Linked DNA regions of Homo sapiens: region 2 is linked to region 1. The links are contacts of gene promoters, found by promoter capture Hi-C in human tissues and cell types (Jung and others, 2019). All regions are on one chromosome and are shown on one strand. Each heading gives the region's core, a stretch centred on a gene start or on the middle of the fragment in contact. The rest is flanking DNA. Distances are from core to core; before and after follow the strand shown.

The links. The method cuts DNA at HindIII sites, captures the fragments that hold promoters and counts their contacts. A contact is called where the count stands out against the background at its distance.
Region 2: the fragment with the promoter of ADM5 here is called in contact with the fragment with the promoter of SPACA4 in region 1 in 1 of the 25 tissues and cell types used here (aorta).

Annotation. Positions count from the first base shown.
Region 1 is chr19:48,603,638-48,608,665 of GRCh38, reverse strand. SPACA4 (sperm acrosome associated 4) reads right to left here and starts at 1,924. Exons shown (of 1, transcript NM_133498.3): 1 at 952-1,924. The coding sequence starts at 1,687. The coding sequence ends at 1,313. It overlaps FAM83E (family with sequence similarity 83 member E), which reads left to right. Exons shown (of 7, transcript NM_017708.4): 6 at 4,755-5,028. The HindIII fragment of the contact is 21,490 bases long and covers 1-5,028 here.
Region 2 is chr19:49,686,038-49,691,065 of GRCh38, reverse strand. ADM5 (adrenomedullin 5 (putative)) reads right to left here and starts at 1,472. Exons shown (of 2, transcript NM_001101340.2): 1 at 1,155-1,472; 2 at 491-960. The coding sequence starts at 1,228. The coding sequence ends at 573. It overlaps PRMT1 (protein arginine methyltransferase 1), which reads right to left. Exons shown (of 11, transcript NM_001536.6): 9 at 4,823-4,973; 10 at 4,340-4,461; 11 at 2,619-2,904. The coding sequence ends at 2,821. It also overlaps a transcript of CPT1C not described here. RefSeq lists a silencer at 1,013-1,082 and enhancers at 2,391-3,131, 3,132-3,873. The HindIII fragment of the contact is 11,781 bases long and covers 1-2,782 here.

The DNA of each region.
Region 1 (5,028 bases), core at 675-3,174:
CAGACCAGCCTGATTAACATGGGGAAACCCTGTCTCTACTAAAAATACAAAAAATCAGCCGGGCCTGGTGGAATGCATCTCTAGTCCCAGCTACTCGGGAGGCTGAGGCAGGAGAATCGCTAGAACCTGGGAGGTGGAGGTTGCAGTGAGCCAAGATCGCGCCACTGCACTAAAGCCTGGGTGACCGAGCGAGACTCTGTCTCAAAAAATAAAAAAAAAAAAAAAAAAGGAAAAGAAAAAGAAAACGGAAAAAGGCCAGGCGTGGTGGTTCATGTCTGTAGTCCCAGCACTTTGGGAGGCTGAGGCAGGAGGATCGCTTGAGCCCAGGACTTCAAGACCAGCCTGGGCAACATAGCAGGACCCCATCTCTACAAAAATTTAAAAAAATAAAAATTAGACATGATGGAGCATGCTTCTAGTCCCAGCTACTCAGGAGGCTGAGGTGGGAGGATTGCTTGAGCCCAGGAGGTAGAGGCTGCAATGAGCCAAGATTGCACCACTGCACTCCAGCCTGGGCAGCAGAGCAAAACCCTGTTTCAAAAAGAAAAAGAGAGAACAATACACAGCTTTTGGACCCCACTGCCATTCATCGTGCCTGGAACAGGACCTGAGAATCTGCATTTTCAGGAAGTTCCCACTTGCTGCTGCTGCTGTTTCTGGTCCAGGGACCACACTTTGAGAATGATTGGAGTTGAGACCAGGATGTTTGAAATGTTTGAAAGAGTGTTTACCTTCCCAGCTTGGTGTGAGGATTCAGTGGCACGTAACGTAAGACAGGCTTGGCCAGGTGCCGTGGCTCATACCTGTAATCCCAGCACTTTGGGAGGCTGAGGTGGGAGGATCACTTGAGCCCAAGAATCCGAGACCACCCTGGGCAACATAGCTGGACCTTATCTCTACAAAAAGAAAAAAAAAAAAAGGAAAAGAAAAAGAAAAGAAAACAAAGAATGCTCCATGAACATCAGCTGTCATTTATTATGATATATATATATTTTTTACCATATTTCATGGACTCTAAAGTGCTACCAATGGAGAGAAGCATCCTGATTGAGATGTGAGAAGCTCTGCGTCTTAGAACCAGTGGAACAGAGTAATACAATCAAACCCACGGGCCGTGCTCCCCTGCCGCTCAGTCAGGCCTGGGGATGCTTCCCCTAGCACCGGGCTCCTGGTGGACAGCCTTAGAAGGGATGAAGCCAGGGCCGCAAGAGGTTGTCCAGGGCCTCTCTGGCCATTTAGTGGGGGAAGGACATGGGGACATGGGGAGTGGCGGATCTGGGAGAACAGTCCCAGGCCCTGTCCTCCCTGTTGGTCACAGCAAACGTGGAGGAAGCAGCATACCCAGCCCCAGTGCCAGGCTGGTGGTGGCCCCCACTGTCTGGCTGCTCGGGGCTCTGTTACACAGGCGGCCGGTGCAGCAGTTGGTGGTGAGGCTGTAGGTGACGCCCCTGTAGCTGACGGGTTCCTCAAGGCCGCAGCTGGTGGCTCGCAGGCAGCCTTTGTTGATGACCGGACCAGTGCCCGGGGCGACCCCGTGGCCTGTGAAGCAGTCCTCGTCATCGCCACAGTGCATGTAGGTACCAGGACACTGCATGGAGTCGGTGAGCTCACAGAAGACGCAGTCCTTGACGCCCGTCGTGCCTGGGGGCAGAGCCATCACCAGAAGCAGCAGCCAGCACAGGACCATGGCGGCCTGGCGGCGTTGACCCTGCCCCAGCCAGGCCGTGGGCTTCCCAGACCTCCCGGAACCGCTGAATGAAGGACCTCTGAGGACTCCTCTTGCCCACGGGACTTTGGCCCTGGTCCTGGCCTCCCAGGGTCAGCGCCTGGAGTGTCCTCTGTTCCCAACGCCCTGCGTCCCTCTAAGTCCTGGGGATGGAGGTGAGCGGGTGGCTGCTGCCCAACAAGAGTCTGTGAATGGAATGAGTGATCTCACAGATCCCTCAGGGTTCCCACTGGCCGCTCTGGGGATGAGGTCATAGGTGAGAGGAGTGGGTGTCACAATCCAAGGGGTGGCCTGCCCCGCCGACCTGCCGGGGCGCAAGAGGGCTCTGCCATCCCTGCCAAGGTGAAGACGCCCTGAACCCAGAGGACGCTGGCCACAAGCTTGTCCGCATTCTCTGTGCTGTACACCCGCCAAGGGCTTGACTTCAGCCTCACACCTCCCATAGTGACCCCATATTCCAGATGGGTAAACTAAGGCTGGGGAAAGTGATGTATCCAGGGTCCCCGAGCCAGGATGAGAGCCAGGTTCATTGAATTCCAAAGAGGCTGGGAAAGAAGAGGGTGTATTAACTGAGCACTTGCTGTGTGCCAGGATTCATGCTCAGTGCTTGCTTGCTTTTATTTTTTTGAGACGGAGTCTCTCACTCTGTCACCCAGGCTGGAGTGCAGTGGCGTGATCTCAGCTCACTGCAGCTTCTGCTTCCCAGCTTCAAGCGATTCTCGTAACTCAGCCTCCCGAGTGGCTGGGACTGCAGGCGCATGCAACCACATCTGGCTAATTTTTGTATTTTTAGTAGAGACAGGGTTTCACCATGTAGGCCAGGCTGGTTGCGAACTCTTGAGCTCAAGTGATCTGCCCGCCTCGACCTCCCAAAGTGCTGGGATTACAGACGTGAGCCACCACACCACGCCTGGCACTTGGTGCTTTCAATAACAACTACTGTGATGACAGGAAGTGTTAGGGCACCGGCCCCCACAGCTCACAGGCTCTCAGGGCCAGCTACGTGCAGGGGGCTTGATTCAAATTCAGTCATTTGAATATTCCTATGTTGTATTTATTTCTTAATTTTATTTTTTATTTTAAAAAATTGGCCGGGCGCAGTGGCTCACGCCTGTAATCCCAGCACTTTGGGAGGCCGAGGCGGGTGGATCACCTGAGCTCAGGAGTTCAAGACCAGCATGGCCAACGTGGTAAAACCCCATCTCTACTAAAAATACAAAAATTTGCTGGGCATGGTGGTGTGCACCTGTAATCCCAGCTACTTGGGAGGCTTGAACCTGGGAGGTGGAGGTTGCAGTGAGCCAATATTGTGCCACTGCACTTGAGCCTAGGCAATAGAGCAAGACTCCATCTCAAAAAAAAAAAAAAATAGGATCTTGCTCTGTTGCCTAGACTGGAGTGCAGTGGCGCGATCTTGGCTCACTGCAGCCTCAACTTCCCAGGCTCAAGTGATTCTCCTCCCTGAGCCTCCAGAGTAGCTGGGACTATAGGCGTGCACCACCATGCCCGGCTAATTTTGTAAAATTTTTTATAGAGATGGGGTCTTGCTATGTTGCCCAGGCTGGTCTCAAACTCCTAGCCTCAAGTGATCCTCCTGCCTCGGCCTCCCAAAGTGCTGGGATTACAGGCATGAGCCACTGCACACGGCCTTCCTAGGTTTTTGCTCCAGATTGCAGATGAGCACTGCAGGGAGCAGCAACGTGGAGAGCTTGGTGCACAGCCAGGACTGACTAAATGGCAGTCATTCTAGGAAGCAGCTGGGTCTTAAAACAATCCCTGTTAGTGTCCGGAAGTGAATTCCGTCTCTTTCCAAAGGGGAAAACTGAGGCATTGAGGTGTTCCTAAGTGGGGACCAGGCAGAGCCTGGGTTTAAACTCCAGTCTGATTCCAGATAAGTTTTTTTTTTTTTTTTTTTTTTTTGAGTCAGAGTCTCGCTCTGTCGCCCAGGTTGGAGTGCAGTGGTGTGATTTCAGCTCACTGCAACCTCCACCTCCCGGGTTCAAGCAATTCTCCTGCCTCAGCCTCCTGAGTAGCTGGAATTACAGGCATGTGCCACCATACCCAGCTAATTTCTGTATTTTTAGTAGAGATGGGGTTTCACCATGTTGGTCAGGCTGATCTCAAACTCCTGACCTCATGATCTGCCCGCCTCAGCCTCCCAAAGTGCTGGGATTACAGGAGTGAGCCACCGCATCTGGCTTTTTTTTTTTTGGGAGGGGGGCGAGGGGGACAGGGTCTTGCTTTGCTGCCCAGGCTGGAATGCAGTGGTATTATCACGGCTCACTGCAGCCTCAATTTCCCAGGCTCAGCCGGGCACGGGTGGCTCACACCTGTAATCCCAGCACTTTGGGAGGCCGAGGCGGGTGGATCACCTGAGGTCAGGGGTTCGAGACCAGCCTGGCCAATGTGGTGAAACCCCATCTCTACTAAAAATACAAAAAATTAGCCGGGCATGGCGGCAGGTGCCTGTAATCCCAACTACTCAGGAGGCTGAGGCAGGAGAATTGCTTGAAGCCAGGAGGCAGAGGTTGCAGTGAGCCGAGATCATGCCACTACACTCCAGCCTGGGCAAAAAGAGCGAAACTCCGTCTCACAAAAAAAAAAAAAAAAAAAAAAATCCCAGGGTCAAGGGATCCTCCCGCCTCAGTCTCCCAAGTGGCTGGGAGTACAGGTGTGCGCCACCACACCTGGCTAGTTTTTTTGATTTTTTGTAGAGATAGGGTCTCACCATGTTGCCCAGGCTGGTCTGAAACTCCTGGGCTCAAGCAACCCTCCTGCCTCAGCCTCCCAAAGTGTGAGTCACCACACCTGGCCCTGATTATATAAGTGTCTTAACTTGGGCTGTCTTCACTCCACCCCTCCCGAGTAGGTACTTCAGTTGTGCCCATTCTACAGACAGGGAAGCTGAGGCTGGAGAGGTCAGGACTCGCCTGAGGTCCTACGGTCTCCCCTGGGACCTGGCTGAGGATGGGGGCCGGGCTGGGCCCTCAGGGTTGGAGACTCTGACCCCCTACTCCCCGACCCCCAGCTTCACGTGGAGTGACGCACGCCTGCACCGAGGCCTGGTGACCCTGCTGACTGGTGAAATTGTTGACGCCTTCAGCCTTGAGTTCCGGACGCTGTACGCGGCCTCCTGCCCGCTCCCACCTGCGCCCCCCCAGAAACCCTCGGTCATAGGTGGCCTGCAGCGGGGCCGCAGCCCGCACCGCGTGTCCCGCCGCCGCTCCGTGGCCCCCGCGTCGCCTCCGCCGCCTGACGGCCCGCTGGCCCACCGCCTGGCCGCCTGCCGCGTCTCCCCTGCT
Region 2 (5,028 bases), core at 223-2,722, 1.1 Mb before region 1:
GCCCCCTTCGAGCCACGGCGTCCAATCCCCTACATCCGTTCGATCCCCAGTCCTCCGTCTCCTTTTACCCGGCCAGATTCTCCACCATTTGGCCGCTCGCATTCTACGCAGCTGTTCGGAACCCGGGTTCCTGGGCTCCTCACTCAGCTCATTGTCTCTTAGTCTCCTGTCTCTTCGAGGAACAAGGCTCAGCTGGGAGGTCGCAGCCCACCCCAGGTGCATTATAACGTCAGGCGCGTAGGGTGCCGGAGCAAATCTCAGCCCTTTCACGCCAGGGAGGGAGGAGGGATGTTTGGGGGTCAGGACGGCCCGCCAAAACCACCCACGGAAGGTGCATGGATTGAGTTGGCAAGAAAGGCGCCACAGCGGGTTGGATTCAAGGTAGACAGTGGGACTTCCGTGAGGGAGAAGCAGCATGGCTAATAGAGAAAGGTATATTAGAGACCCAGCCTCGACTGAGAGGTCGAAATAGGTACAGAGAAGCAGAGACTGAAACACGGAACTCTTGTTTATTCGGCTCTGGGCGTCAGTGTTCTTCGCCCAGCCTGGTCCCGTGTGCTTCTAGGTCCAACCTAGTCGCAGCCCGGGGAGGGACTGGGGAAGACGGTTTCAGGGGCTGGAGTTAGGGGAGAAGAAATGTGGAGTAGAAGCTCCAACATACAGATAGGCAAACTGAAGCCGAGGAGGGGACGAGCCGTGCCCGAGGTCACCCAGCGAGCTGGGCACTGCGCTAGCCCCCTCGCTGCAGGCCGGAATCCTGGGAACCGAGCCGGGCTTCCGCCTCGCGCCACCGGCGGCGCCCATAGCTGTAGGGGTCCTGGGGCTCGTGGCTGGCCTTCCCCGAGGGCTCCTTGGTGGAGACAGCGAATCCAGTATATGATCTCCGCCAGGCGGTGGGTCCGGCATACGCCCAGGTAGCAGACGTGCCCGCGGTGCTGGGGGACCTGGTGCTGGCCTCGCCTGGAGAGGGAGCGTGGGAGAAAACCGGGTTCAAACCGAATTGAGAGATGGAGCGTGATGGAGGTGGGCACCCAAGCACTCCAAGACCAGCGGGGAGGCTTACAGATCACCTGCCCGTTCCGCGGCCGGGAGAGGGCGCTCGCCCTTTACGGTCTCCCTCCCGCCCTGTCCCTGCTGCCACCCGGGTTTCTCACCTGGCTGCAGTGTCCAGGTCCCCTTGGGCGGAGAAGGCGAGGAGCAACAGCAGGATGAGGATGTGGATAGTCATCGTGGGCAGGGCGGGTCAGGATCCGTGGCCCGTAGTTGCGGCCACCCCGCCCCGTTCCCGCACCGGGCTGATCGCCTCTGGGTGCAGCTCTGGAGCCAGGTACCAGGGCCAGTCCCCACTTCCCAGGCGGGGAACACTGAGGCCAAAAGTCTGTGGGAAGAGGCCGCACCACACCAGAGGGGCAGGATTCAAACCCGGGTCCCCGCTTCCCGCACCGCGGCTCCAGAGACCTCACTGGGTGTGTGGGGTCACACCAGCTGCTGTCTATCCCCCTAGGAGGTCTGTGGAGACTCGCCCCCTTCAAAGCGTGGGGAAATGGGGCGGGGCCAATGACACCCGCAGGTAGCTAAGCAGCGGGATTCCAAGAAAAGGGGTGGCGGCGGGGAAGCGCTGGCTCTGGTTGTAGATGCGACCTCACCCTCACCCTGTCGGGAAGCCGGTTAGTAGACAGTTGGGACCCTGGAACCTCGGGGGCCAGGCAATGCAGGGCAAGTGCACATGCGGCCCCCTGGAGGGCGTGGAGCGAGGGAGACCCCAAACACACTGAGGAGCGCCCCTCCGGAAGAGAAAAGGCCGAGGTGTCAGGCACTCGCCGGTGAGGGCTCCAGTTGCACTGAAGCAGGTGTAGCCAGGGCTGTTCAACGAGGAGGGTGTCCTGGGTCAACCAGGTCGAGTGCACAGTATTGTGGGGGACCCAGGACCCCGTGGCCAGGCCCTGAGGGTGGAAGGGTGGGTGCAGACGCCATGTCTGCAGCAGAGGCAGAGGGACCTCGTCTTCACCTCTGTAAGATGGGTAGGCCCTGCCACCTTACAGCTGCAACTCCCACTGACCTCCATGGAGGGCAAGTCCCCAGCCCTAAGCCCCAAGCCATTCTAGGGGAGGAAGCAGGGCCACTCCCCCATGAGAAATTCTATCCTTGCAAACATACACCCCCAACCCACTCAGTGTCCCCAGCTGCAGAGGGCTGGGCACAGTTGGGCCTTGAAGGGACCCGAACAGGAAAAAACAGCCAGAGAGGAACAATGTCGAGTGTTGGGGGGAGGTGGGGAGACTGTTCTGGGAAACTTGAGGGCTGGCTGTGCTGGAAAGCCACCCCCATCCCCTACTAGGCAGGACACGGGTACCGCAGAGGGGAGGGGCGCAGACCCAGGAGAGGGATGAAAAGAGTTGGACAAAGACCCTGAGAGACAGCTGTGGAGGACAGGGACCCCGAGAAGGAACCAAGGAAGGGGAGCAAGAGGCCTAGAGACGGGGGACGGGAGACGCAGATCCACAGAATGGCAGCCACCAGCAGGTGCCAAGGCCGGTCCCCCCACTGCTGAGGCTGGCACTGCAGTACCTGCGAAAGGAACCCCAAACCTCCTTTGCCCCCAGGAAACAAAGCCAGACCCCAGCTGAGGATTTATTGGCGTAAATGCAACCATATAAAAACATAAGTTATGAAAAACACAGTCACGATGTGCCCTCCCCATCCCCCCAGCCCAGGCCCCTAAAACCCCCTTCTGCGGGAGGGAGGGAGAGGAAGGGGGAGCCCCGAAACCGCCTAGGAACGCTCAGCCCCTGGGCTCGTGCAGGGCGGGAGAGCCGGGCCTCAGCGCATCCGGTAGTCGGTGGAGCAGGACAGCTCGCACAGCTGGCCCTTGAAGTCCAGGTCGATGGTGAAGTCCAGGTCCCGCTGCAGGGAGAGGTGGGGCATGAGGGCGGAACCCACCAGGAGGTGGTGGCGGGGGGCGGGTGCAGGCAGGCTATGCGACGATGAGCCGGGCTCCAGCTTCCTGCCCATCTCCACGCTGCAGACCCCAACTGCTGGTCCCACCCTAGCAGCTGCCCTGACCCTGCCAAGGGACAGCACCACATGGACACCCCCAAGCCCACTAGACTCACTCAGGAGTAGAGCCCAGCTGCTGTCCCTTGCCCTTGGATTTCTCCATCAGGATGATTCCCATCAGCAATGCAGTGATTGCTTCTTTCATAAAAAAGAAAACCTCTCCCAAGCCCACTTCCTCCTCAGGCAAACGTTCCAGTGAAACACAATGGTCCAGCCTGCTGTCTCCACTTCCTCTCCTCCCCCCATACCCTCCAGCACATGAAGATGAGACAAAGTCACCAACGCCCGAGGACTCCTCCTCCCTCTCCAGTATCCGTTTCCCAGCTAGTGCCGTGGTCCCGGGGGCTGCATGAGTCTTTGTAGGGGGTGGTCCTGTGGCTGCAGGACATTTACCAGCCCCCTGGCCCCTACCTACCAGATGCCAGGACCACCCCTTCTCCGGAGTGACAACCACAAATGTTTCCACAGACGGTGGCAAACGTCCTGGGGGGGGGCGGGGAGCGGAGGGGGCAGTAAAACTGCCCAGTTGACAACTGCTGCTGTCACAGGCTCGTGGGTGTCCCAGGGTCCACATTCCATGACTACCCTGAGTGCCACCCACCCTCGCACCCATCGGCCGGGACCCACTTTTCCAACCCAGACCACTCCCGGCGACTCCAGGCTCCAAGCCTTCCATCCTCCTGCCTGCTCAGACCCACCACACTGGATCTCTGCCCAGACCCTGTCTCCGAGAAGCCCCCCCAGCTCCCCCGGAAGCCCCCTGATCTCAGGTGATGGCAGCTCCTGCCAAGTGCTCAGGAGGAAAAAGAAAGGGGAGCAGAAAACAAAAAGCTGCCTTTCTCCTCTCATGCCTCCCAGCTGGGCTAGAAAACCCCGTGCACTCTACTGGGGGCTGCCTCTTGCCCTGGAGCCCACCTACACCAACACCTGTCTGCCCTGCTCCCAGCCTGACAGAGGTCACCTCCAACTGGCATCACCATGTCACTGACCCCCTTGTCTAGAGTGGAAGCACCAGGAGGGCAGGGTTTCAGCCTGGGTCCCCAGGCCCATAACTTCCGGTGAATGCTCAAGCAATCCTGCTGTGTAGACAGGCATGGGGCTGAGGGGCTTGGGGACCCGGGAATAGGCAGAGGTGCTCGCCCCCGCCAGCTGCCCCCATCCCCCACCCCGGCTGCCCCCATCCCCTACCCCCGCTGCCACCATTCCTCCCCCACCACTCCCCCCCCAATCTACACTCCCCGCCCTAGCTGCCACCCTCCCACCCAGCTGCCCGGAGCCTCACGTTGTTCTTGGCGTTGGGCCGCATGCCGATGGTGCCGAAGATCTCCTCGCCCGTCTTCACGGTCAGGTAGTCCTCCATGTAGAACACCGTCTGCTTCCAGTGCGTGTACGGGGACTCGGGGCCTGGGGGCGCGGGCGGGTCAGCCGGCCTCGGCCTGCTGCCCCCCCCAACCCCACCCTTGCGTTCCCTCTGTCGGAATGCCCACCCCCATGACAGCTGATGGGACTGCTATCCGCGAGTCACCTCCCTGTCATTGAGCTTTGGAGACAGGGACCGTGTCAGCCTTTTGTGGATGAGGAAACTGAGGCACTGCACACTCAGGTCACTTGCCCAAGGCCACGTGACTGCTACATGGCAGAGCTCACACTGGAACACGCGTGTCCCCATGGTTCCTTCTGCCCGTTTCTGTCACCCCCTCCACTACGTGGGTGCGCCTCCGCCCTGGCTCGGGAACGGCCCCCAGCCCTGTGGGCCCCGCCTCACTGGTGGAGAAGCCGGTCCTCTTGTGGCAGCGTGTGAACTCGATGTTGAAGTAGGCCACCAGGGCGTGCACGTAGTCATTCCGCTTCACTTGCAGGCAGAACGGGGAGGTGAAGGTCAGGTCTTCCACCTTGACGGTATAGATGTCCACCTCCTGCAGGACATGAGAGGGCGAGCTCCGGGATGCGTCCCCACCTCGCTTCATCCCC